4 separate regions of the Homo sapiens genome follow, and regions 1, 3 and 4 are each linked to region 2. The links are contacts of gene promoters, found by promoter capture Hi-C in blood cells and fetal thymus (Javierre and others, 2016). All regions are on one chromosome and are shown on one strand. Each heading gives the region's core, a stretch centred on a gene start or on the middle of the fragment in contact. The rest is flanking DNA. Distances are from core to core; before and after follow the strand shown. Region 1 overlaps BIRC3 (baculoviral IAP repeat containing 3). Region 2 holds the start of MMP20 (matrix metallopeptidase 20). Region 3 has its middle 15 kb from the start of BIRC3. Region 4 overlaps LOC105369460 (a long non-coding RNA gene).

What was found. The method cuts DNA at HindIII sites, captures the fragments that hold promoters and counts their contacts. A CHiCAGO score of 5 or more calls a contact.
Region 1: a fragment that was not itself captured here is called in contact with the fragment with the promoter of MMP20 in region 2 in 12 of 17 cell types (M1 macrophages, M0 macrophages, M2 macrophages and 9 more); the score reaches 15.6 in M1 macrophages.
Region 3: a contact is called between a fragment that was not itself captured here and the fragment with the promoter of MMP20 in region 2, in 4 of 17 cell types (M0 macrophages, megakaryocytes, M2 macrophages and 1 more). The highest score is 9.1, in M0 macrophages.
Region 4: a fragment that was not itself captured here is called in contact with the fragment with the promoter of MMP20 in region 2 in 16 of 17 cell types (naive CD8 T cells, naive B cells, non-activated CD4 T cells and 13 more); the score reaches 21.9 in naive CD8 T cells.

What each region holds. Positions count from the first base shown.
Region 1 is chr11:102,321,873-102,324,572 of GRCh38, forward strand. BIRC3 (baculoviral IAP repeat containing 3) reads left to right here. Exons shown (of 9, transcript NM_001165.5): 2 at 1-2,700. The coding sequence starts at 2,638. Among named protein-coding and RNA genes, the nearest start is that of BIRC3, 5.7 kb to the left of the region's middle. The HindIII fragment of the contact is 1,743 bases long and covers 473-2,215 here.
Region 2 is chr11:102,623,831-102,626,603 of GRCh38, forward strand. It overlaps MMP20 (matrix metallopeptidase 20), which reads right to left and starts at 1,502. Exons shown (of 10, transcript NM_004771.4): 1 at 1,364-1,502. The coding sequence starts at 1,489. The HindIII fragment of the contact is 723 bases long and covers 969-1,691 here.
Region 3 is chr11:102,300,967-102,303,666 of GRCh38, forward strand. No RefSeq gene overlaps it. Among named protein-coding and RNA genes, the nearest start is that of BIRC3, 15 kb to the right of the region's middle. The HindIII fragment of the contact is 3,302 bases long and covers 1-2,700 here.
Region 4 is chr11:102,280,157-102,282,968 of GRCh38, forward strand. It overlaps LOC105369460 (a long non-coding RNA gene), which reads left to right. Exons shown (of 5, transcript XR_007062863.1): 5 at 1-1,083. Among named protein-coding and RNA genes, the nearest start is that of BIRC3, 36 kb to the right of the region's middle. The HindIII fragment of the contact is 1,863 bases long and covers 489-2,351 here.

The sequences.
Region 1 (2,700 bases), core at 94-2,593, 300 kb before region 2:
TTTTTCAGTTTCTTCTATAAATCAAAACATCTCAAAATGGAGACCTAAAATCCTTAAAGGGACTTAGTCTAATCTCGGGAGGTAGTTTTGTGCATGGGTAAACAAATTAAGTATTAACTGGTGTTTTACTATCCAAAGAATGCTAATTTTATAAACATGATCGAGTTATATAAGGTATACCATAATGAGTTTGATTTTGAATTTGATTTGTGGAAATAAAGGAAAAGTGATTCTAGCTGGGGCATATTGTTAAAGCATTTTTTTCAGAGTTGGCCAGGCAGTCTCCTACTGGCACATTCTCCCATTATGTAGAATAGAAATAGTACCTGTGTTTGGGAAAGATTTTAAAATGAGTGACAGTTATTTGGAACAAAGAGCTAATAATCAATCCACTGCAAATTAAAGAAACATGCAGATGAAAGTTTTGACACATTAAAATACTTCTACAGTGACAAAGAAAAATCAAGAACAAAGCTTTTTGATATGTGCAACAAATTTAGAGGAAGTAAAAAGATAAATGTGATGATTGGTCAAGAAATTATCCAGTTATTTACAAGGCCACTGATATTTTAAACGTCCAAAAGTTTGTTTAAATGGGCTGTTACCGCTGAGAATGATGAGGATGAGAATGATGGTTGAAGGTTACATTTTAGGAAATGAAGAAACTTAGAAAATTAATATAAAGACAGTGATGAATACAAAGAAGATTTTTATAACAATGTGTAAAATTTTTGGCCAGGGAAAGGAATATTGAAGTTAGATACAATTACTTACCTTTGAGGGAAATAATTGTTGGTAATGAGATGTGATGTTTCTCCTGCCACCTGGAAACAAAGCATTGAAGTCTGCAGTTGAAAAGCCCAACGTCTGTGAGATCCAGGAAACCATGCTTGCAAACCACTGGTAAAAAAAAAAAAAAAAAAAAAAAAAAGCCACAGTGACTTGCTTATTGGTCATTGCTAGTATTATCGACTCAGAACCTCTTTACTAATGGCTAGTAAATCATAATTGAGAAATTCTGAATTTTGACAAGGTCTCTGCTGTTGAAATGGTAAATTTATTATTTTTTTTGTCATGATAAATTCTGGTTCAAGGTATGCTATCCATGAAATAATTTCTGACCAAAACTAAATTGATGCAATTTGATTATCCATCTTAGCCTACAGATGGCATCTGGTAACTTTTGACTGTTTTAAAAAATAAATCCACTATCAGAGTAGATTTGATGTTGGCTTCAGAAACATTTAGAAAAACAAAAGTTCAAAAATGTTTTCAGGAGGTGATAAGTTGAATAACTCTACAATGTTAGTTCTTTGAGGGGGACAAAAAATTTAAAATCTTTGAAAGGTCTTATTTTACAGCCATATCTAAATTATCTTAAGAAAATTTTTAACAAAGGGAATGAAATATATATCATGATTCTGTTTTTCCAAAAGTAACCTGAATATAGCAATGAAGTTCAGTTTTGTTATTGGTAGTTTGGGCAGAGTCTCTTTTTGCAGCACCTGTTGTCTACCATAATTACAGAGGACATTTCCATGTTCTAGCCAAGTATACTATTAGAATAAAAAAACTTAACATTGAGTTGCTTCAACAGCATGAAACTGAGTCCAAAAGACCAAATGAACAAACACATTAATCTCTGATTATTTATTTTAAATAGAATATTTAATTGTGTAAGATCTAATAGTATCATTATACTTAAGCAATCATATTCCTGATGATCTATGGGAAATAACTATTATTTAATTAATATTGAAACCAGGTTTTAAGATGTGTTAGCCAGTCCTGTTACTAGTAAATCTCTTTATTTGGAGAGAAATTTTAGATTGTTTTGTTCTCCTTATTAGAAGGATTGTAGAAAGAAAAAAATGACTAATTGGAGAAAAATTGGGGATATATCATATTTCACTGAATTCAAAATGTCTTCAGTTGTAAATCTTACCATTATTTTACGTACCTCTAAGAAATAAAAGTGCTTCTAATTAAAATATGATGTCATTAATTATGAAATACTTCTTGATAACAGAAGTTTTAAAATAGCCATCTTAGAATCAGTGAAATATGGTAATGTATTATTTTCCTCCTTTGAGTTAGGTCTTGTGCTTTTTTTTCCTGGCCACTAAATTTCACAATTTCCAAAAAGCAAAATAAACATATTCTGAATATTTTTGCTGTGAAACACTTGACAGCAGAGCTTTCCACCATGAAAAGAAGCTTCATGAGTCACACATTACATCTTTGGGTTGATTGAATGCCACTGAAACATTCTAGTAGCCTGGAGAAGTTGACCTACCTGTGGAGATGCCTGCCATTAAATGGCATCCTGATGGCTTAATACACATCACTCTTCTGTGAAGGGTTTTAATTTTCAACACAGCTTACTCTGTAGCATCATGTTTACATTGTATGTATAAAGATTATACAAAGGTGCAATTGTGTATTTCTTCCTTAAAATGTATCAGTATAGGATTTAGAATCTCCATGTTGAAACTCTAAATGCATAGAAATAAAAATAATAAAAAATTTTTCATTTTGGCTTTTCAGCCTAGTATTAAAACTGATAAAAGCAAAGCCATGCACAAAACTACCTCCCTAGAGAAAGGCTAGTCCCTTTTCTTCCCCATTCATTTCATTATGAACATAGTAGAAAACAGCATATTCTTATCAAATTTGATGAAAAGCGCCAACACGTTTGAA
Region 2 (2,773 bases), core at 252-2,751:
TAGTTTCAGAATCACAGTGGCATGAGGCAGGGTAGGGAAAATTACATTTGGGAAGAAGGCACCTAAAGCTAGGTGGCATGGACAAAATACAATTGAATAAGGATCCCAGTATCCTGAGTTATTTTGAATTTAGTTCATCTAAAAGTGGGCTAAAGTCAAAAGAAGTTCAGTTCAACATGGTTGTGCTGGGCATCAGCTGTGCTGTTCATCTGCGGGGCTGATATTTAAGTGTTTAATGACTGGTATGGCCGGGGAACTGACCAGTTAATAAGGATGAGTGGCAGAAACAATCGGTAGGGACATGCCATTGCACATGGGTGCAAATCAGCTCTACGATGCAGACAGCCAAGCGGTACACAGGTGCAGCCTGGCAGTCAGGAAAGCAGCCCTGAGGCGGAGCTGGTGATCACAGATGTGCTGTAATGTTGGCAGACTCTTGAAAGGGAGGCCTGTGTGCAAAAGCATTTCCTCTATATATCTTTCACTAATGTTGGAAATTCCATCCGTAGACATCCATTTCTTTAGGTTAAGGATGCCACCCTTCTTTTAAAAACAAAACACGCTTGGAAGCATATATATATATATATATATATATATATATATATATATATATATATGTAGAAATCATTTTGAGTCAAGCAGTCTTTGTGAAATATTTGAATATGGATCATTTCTATCAGACCCTTTCCAGCAGTCATAGAGGAGAGATCTCAAAAGAGGAAAATACACAAAGTTTAAGTACATAAACGTTGTACTTTGTACTTACTACATAAACTTTGTTATGTACTTTGTACATAAACTTTTACTTCATTGGGGAATATGCTTTAGGGAGAAAAGGCCTTCAAATGAGAAGTGGGTTGGCACCCAGGAAGAACTTAGTCCACTTTAAATTTTGATCAGGGTTACCTTGAATATAAGAGCCATTTAAAAAGTGGAAACACAGGAAATCTCCTTGTTGTGACCGCTAAAGCTTAGCACTAAATTCACAACCTGCCTCTAGCGTGTGGATTATGCCTCGGTTTTTATTTTTCTGCTTCTATTTTTCCTCCTACATCATTCCCGGGAAGTACTTGTTTGCTCCTTTTATATTGCATGGTTTTCACAAGCCACCTGGAATTCTTTATGAAGCAAGATAGCTAGGTAGATATATCCTCATGTATTTATTCAGTCATGTAACATGGTACACCTAATATGCACCAGACACCAATCTAGGTGGACAGAAGATAGCATCAGTTAGACTTCAATGGACTTATATAAAATGATTTTAAAAGAACAATAGAATTTTTTTCTTATTTTCTCACTATGCCCTTTTAGGTTTTCTAGGGCAGAGGAGCAAGAAGGAATTGGGCAAAAATTCACAAACCTGTGCGAGGCGGTAGTTGTTCCTCCAGGTCCTGGGGGAGGCTGCAACTAGGGAGGGGGCTGCAGTGGAAAACTTCAAAGCCATGATGAGGAAGACAGCAAGGCCAGATGCAGGGAGCACCTTCATCCCCTCACAGTAGCTTGGTAATTATATCAGCCTGGGGGATGGCAGACAGTGCACGTTTGCACTTCGACCTTGAGCTCCTTTTATAGAGTCAAACAGGTCTGGACCCTCCGAGCAAGGATGATTCATGTCTCAAACAGTAATTATACAGCTCATTTCTCTCCCTGATGATGGGGTAACACAACTGTACACAGGAATCAGGGAAAGCTTCATATTTTTTTTGTTATTTACCAAGTGGCAAAAGGAGAAAAACAGTCACTTTTAATGAAGTTGGTCAGCTAGTTACAAAAATTGAAGTAAACTTGATTGATTTGAACCCAACTCAACTGAAACATTTGATTAGTCTTCATTTGGGGGCCTTTTTCCATTCTGATTACAGAAAAGTTAGATGATTACAGTATAATTGAATTTGTCCTCCAAGTAATCCCAAACTCCCCATGCATTCAACCCAATCGCCTGTATCTCCTGCATTCACTTCAAAATTTCTTAGTAGCAACTGCTGTTCATAATGATGGCTCTGAGACACATAAGATCCTGAATCATCAAGGCAAGATTACATTATACTGTGCTGACTTAGGGTGGAAAGTGAACTGGTAACTGTTAGAAAGCTTTTGGATGAATTAAGGCAAGAGTTACGTCTTCGTTAACCAAAACAATAGCCAGAACTCCCCAATCTCTGTGTACTCTGGTTAATTGGAGTCATATTGTTTTTCCTGGGTCTGATTAAGATGGATTTGGATCCAGAGATGATACGGTGAAATGGTGTCATATGGTGGGAAAAGCACTTAGAGTCAGACAAAGCAAGACTAAATATTTAAAAAGATATTTCCTAGCTGTGTGATGTTGGGTATGTCATTTAATCTCTGAATATCAAGTTTTTTTTAATCTACAAAAGACTGACAATACTACTACTATGTATAAACTTTTCAGTGTTATGGAGTAACACATATAGCATGACATCTGCAAGCACCACTTGGCATCCACTAGATGTGGATTCAAATCCTAATTTTGATTTTAGACTAAATTCAAGGTTATTCCTATAGTGAATACAGTGAATTCCTATAGTCTTTCTCACTCTGTTGCATTTTGATATGCTTTCTTTGCATGGAAGAGAAGATGGTGGAGTTACAGCCAATGTTTGGTATCTAGTGTACAACCCCAGGCACTGAACAAGAGTTTGTCACACATTAATATGGTTTGGCTCTGTGTCCCTAACCAAATCTCATCTCGAATTGTAATCCCCATGTGTTGAGGGAGGGAGGGGATTGGATCATGGGGGTGGTTCCG
Region 3 (2,700 bases), core at 171-2,670, 320 kb before region 2:
TGTGGAGTCTATAGAGGCAGTAGACCTTGCTGATCTACAGTGGGCTCCACCCAGTTCGAGCTTCTTGGCTAGTTTGTTTACCTACTCAAGCCTCAGCAATGGCAGATGCCCCTCCCCCAGCCAGGCTGCCACCTCACTGTTTGATCTCAGTCTGCTGTGCTAGCAGTGAGCAAGGCTCCATGGGCATGAGACCCACTGAGCCAGGCACAGGAGAGAATCTCCTTGTCTGCCAGTTGCTAAGACCTTGGGAAAAGTGCAGTATTTGGGCGGGAGTGTCCTGTTTTTCCAGGTACATTCTGTCCTGGCTTCCCTTGGCTAGGGAAAGGAAATCCCCCAATCTCTCGTGCTTCCCGGGTGAGGCAATGCCCCACCCTGCTTTGGCTCGCCCTCCGTGGGCTGCACCCACTGTCCAACCAGTCCCAATTAGATGAACCAGGTACCTCAGTTGGAAATGCAGAAATCACCCATCTTCTGCATCGATCATGCTGGGAGCTGCAGACCGGAGCTCTTCTTATTCAGCCACCTTGGAAAACAAGTCTTAGTCAGATGGTTTTAATGTCTAATTTTTTTAATCTATTCTAAATAAGAATTCACTTAACATATGCATTAGTCTATTCTTACATTGCTATAAAGAAATCCCCGAGGCTGGGTGATTTACAATGAAAAGAGATTTAATTGTCTCATGGTTTGGCAGGCTTTAAGGAAGCATAGTGCTGGCATCTGCTTCTGGTGAGGCCTCAGAAAGGTTACAATCATGTTGGAAGGCAATCGGGATCCAGCATGTCACATGGAGAGAACAAGAGCAAGAAAGAGAGGGAGGAAATGCCATGCCCTTTTAAAAATAACCAGATCTCAGGTGAACTAACAGAGTGAGAACCCACTCATCATGAAGGTGATGCCATTCATCAAAGATCTGCCCCCATGATCCAATATCTCCCACTTGGCCCCACCTCCAAGATTGAGGATTACATTTCAACATGAGATTAGGAGGAGTCAAACACCCAAACCATATCATTCCCCTTCTGGCCCCTCAAATCTCATGTCCTTCTCACATTATAAAATACATTCATCCTTTCTAACAGTCCCCCAAAGCCTTACCTCATTCCAGCATCAATTCAATCAAAAGTCCAAAGTCACATCTGAGTCTCAAGTTGAGTTCTTTTTACCTACAAACCTGTGAAGTCAAAACAAGTTATTTACACCCAAGATACAATGGTGGTAGAGGCATTGAGTAGACACTCTATTCCAAAAGGGAGAAATCAGCCAAAAGAAAGAGGCAATTGGCCCCATGCAAGTCTGAAACCCAGCAGGGTAGGCATTAAACTTTAAATTCCAAAATAATTTCCCTTGCCTCCATGTCCTGTATCCTGGGCATACTGGTGCAAGATGTGGGTTCCCAAAGCCTTGGGCAGCTTTGCCCTTATGGCTTTACAGAATGCAATTTGTGGCTGCTCTAATGGGCTGGAGTTAAGTTCCTGTGGCTTTTTCATGCTGAGCTTGCAAGCTGCTGTGGCTTTACCATTCTCAGGTCTGGAGGTTCGTGGCCCTCTTCCTACAGCTCCACTAGGCAGTGTCCTGCTGGGGACTCTGTAGGGTCTCAAACCCCACATTTCCTCTCAGTACTGCCCTAGTAGCATTTCTCTGTAGGGACTCTGTCCCTACTGCAGGCTTCTGCCTGGGCATCTAGGCTTTTCCATATATCCTCTGGAATCTAGGTGGGAGTTGCCAAGCCTCCTTTACTCTTGCATTTTGTACACCTGCAGCCTTAACACCATGTGGAAGCTGCCAAGGCTTACAGTGGTTTGCACTTTCCAAAGTGGCAGCTTGAGCTGTACCTATGGCCCTGTGAGCCATGGGTGGAGCTGGAGTGGCCAGGATGCAGAGAGTGGGGTCCTAAGACTGAGCAGGGAAGCAATGCCCTGTGCCTGGCCCCTGAAATAATTCTTTCCTCCTAGGCCTCTGACCTGTAATGAGAGGGGCTGCCTCAAAGATTTCTGAAATGTCTTTAAGTCCTTCTTCCCATTGTCATGGATATTAGCACCTGGCTCCCTTTTAGTTATGCCAGTCTCTTTAGCAAGTGGTTGGTCCACAGCCTGCTTGGATTCTTTCTCTACCACAGAGCCAGGCAGAAAATTTTCCAAACTTTTATGCTCTGCTTCCCTTTTATATATAAGTTCCAACTTATTTAAGTCATTTCTTTGCTCCTTCATCTGATATAGGCTCTTAGAAGCAGCCATGCTACATCTTTTTTTTTTTTTTTTTTTTAGACAGAGTTTTGCTCTGTTGCCCAGGCTAGAGTGCAGTGGTGCTATCTTGGCTCACTGCAAGCTCTGCCTCCCAGGTTCATGCCATTCTCCTGCCTCAGCCTCCCGAGTAGCTGGGACTACAGGCGCCCGCCACCACGCCTGGCTAATTTTTTGTAGTTTTAGTAGAGACGGGGTTTCACCGTGTTAGCCAGGATGGTCTCGATCTCCTGACCTCGTGATCCACCCGCCTTGGCCTCCCAAAGTGCTGGGATTACAGGCGTGAGCCACCGCGCCTGGCCCATGCTACATCTTGAATAATTTGCTGCTTAGAAATTTCTTCTGCCAGATACCCTACATCATCATTCTTAAGTTCAAACTTCTGCAATTTCCTAGAGCATGGACACAATACAGCCAAGTTTTTTTGCTAGGGTGTAACAAGGGTGGCCTTTGCTCC
Region 4 (2,812 bases), core at 170-2,669, 340 kb before region 2:
AAATATTGGTGATATGAAAGTTGATATTTTACATAAATTGTCAATTGCTAGTCAAACACGTCAAGGTTTTTTCTTTATGTGGTGGGGCTTTAAAATCTCAGCAGGGAGTTCTTTGAGTTTGAAGTGTCTCCCCTAAGCTTTCCATTTCAGACACTGTTTTTTTCCAAAACAGGTCTCAGTGTGTTGGTGTTTCCAAAGTGCAGATGATTCCTGTTCTTATTTTGTGGCTGTTCTTGCAGAATGCTATCAGCCCCAGATCTAGGGTAGAGGACAGGCTTGATTGGAGCCTTTGCCTGTTACAATGCATGATTCCACCACAGGCCAGCTGTGACCATTCCGCCCAGTGACAGCGTGGTTGTCTTTCCTCATAGGTGAAGGAGGTGACTTCTTATGGGACATGATTTCTGAAGCAGAAGTTTACCTGAGGTTCCTGGAAGAAATGTTTTCCCCACCTGTTGGCTCCCTGAGTATTAACATGCCAGATGCAAAGCTTCATTCATTCTATTAAAATGCAAATGAGCCCAACAGTGTAGTAAAACAGTTTGCTGCTAGAAGTTATTTACAATATTCTAAGAGTAACGCTCTTATTCACCCTAAGCACAGGTTTTAATAAAAAGTGGAAGGGATCGCAAGGGTATTGAGATCTCAGCAAGAGAAGGAAAGGGAAAAGGTTGTTTAAAAACAACATTAATAGAAGACATACCGTATAGAGAGAAAAACGCAGACTGTGCATGTTCAAGATAACTTTCATTACAATTTTGCCTAAGCCAGGGTGAATGCAAATGTTTCAGTTTTAACAGACTGGATCATTCATTCAAAAAGCATTTATTGAGTGCCTTCTCAAAAAAGAATGATAATTAGATTTTTTAAGTTATAAAGAAAATATAAAACCAAAACTGGAGAAATATACGCCAACATTTTTCCAATGGTTCCGTTGTCAAAGTAGAATTAGAATGTAAGTGCAGAGTTAAATTCCATTGTCTATCAAGAAGTAATTGTAAAGGAGCTATGTCTAAAAATGTATCTTTTCAGTGATTTTTGTTCTGAACAATCTTCTGCCTCAAATACATTTTGGATCTATGATTTGCAACCACTTTTTTTTGGTGGGTCAAGATACCAGCACTGTAACTTTAAGAAGTTCATCATTAGCATGCATTTAAAAAAATGTACCAAGTTAAGAAAAAAATTGAATAAATGTACATCTGTCTAAAGCAGGGGTTAGCAGAGTACAGCCTGCAGGTCAAATCCAGTCTACTGCCTGTTTTGTTTTTGTTTTTGTTTTTGTTTTTGACTAGAATGTTAAGATACATTTTTAAATGGCTGCAAAAAAAAAAAATCAAAAGGATAACATTTCATGACATGTTAAAAATTGTCTTCAATTCAAATTTCAGGGGCTGGGTGTGGTGGCTCACACCTGTAATCCCAGTACTTTGGGAGGCCGAGGTGTGTGGATCACCTGAGGTCAGAAGTTCAAGACCAGCCTGGCCAACATGGCAAAATCCCGTCTCCACTAAAAATACAGAAAATTAGCAAGGCCGTGTGCAGTGGCTCACGCCTATAATCCCAGCACTTTGGGAGGCCAAGGAGGGTGGATCATGAGGTCAGGAGTTCGAGACTAGCCTGGCCAACATAGTGAAACTACATCTCTGATACAAACACAAAAATTAGCTGGGCATGATGGCTCACGCCTGTAGTCCCAGCTACTCAGGAGGCTGAGGCAGGAGAATTGCTTGAACCTGGGAGGTGGAAGTTGTGGTTAGCCGAGATCGCACCACTGCACTCCAGACTGGACAACAGAGCAAGACTCCATCTCAAAAACAAAACAAAACAAAAACAATAAAAACAAATCAACAAATCCTGAAACCCTTCTTCCTAGCATTCCCTATCTACATTTTCTGCATTATTTAGCTTTATAGTATTTATCATTAACACAGCCTACATTTTACATATTTTTAAAAAATTGTATATCATTCCTTATTAGAATATTAATTAAATCCCAGGGATTTTTGTCTTTGTTTACTGTTGTATGCTGGAACCTAGAAGAGCATATGACTCCTATATATTGTAGTCGGTACTTGTTTGTTGTGTGTGTTAGTGGCTGAGCCAGGGCTTGTTGCAGACCTGCTTCCATGGTCAGGGAAGCTGGCAAGGTAATGGAATGAATGTGAGACTTTAACATCATATGTGTTTGGGTTCAGATTCTAATCCCAGCCTTTAGTAACTGTTGCAATTTGGAGTAGATTTCACCCAGATATCGGTGATATAAACAAGGAAAATGTTTATTCTTATTATTCTTTTGTGATAAAGAGGTCCAGCATTGATAGAGCAACTCCACAGTCATCAGGGACCCAAGCTTGTTCCACACCCCTTAGTATATGGTTTCCAATGGCCAGGCATGGTGGCTCACGCCTGTAATCCCAGCAGTGGGAGGCTGAGGCTAGAGGATTGCTTGAGCCTGGGAGTTCAGGACCAGCCTGGACAACATAGCAAGACCCCATCTCTACAAAATTAAAAAGAAAATTAGGCCGGGCACATTGGCTCACACCTGTAATCCCAGCACTTTGGGAGGCTGAGGCAGGTGGATCACCTGAGGTCAGGAGTTCGAGACCAGCCTGGCCAACATGGTGAAAACCTGTCTCTACTGAAAATATGAAAAATTAGCTGGGCTTGGTGACGGGCACCTGTAATCCCAGCTACTTGGGAGGCTGAGGCAGAATAACCGTTTGAACCTGGGAGGCGGAGGTTGCAGTGAGCCGAGATCGCGCCATTGCTCAAGAGTGAAACTCCGTCTCAAAAAAAAAAAAAAGAAAAA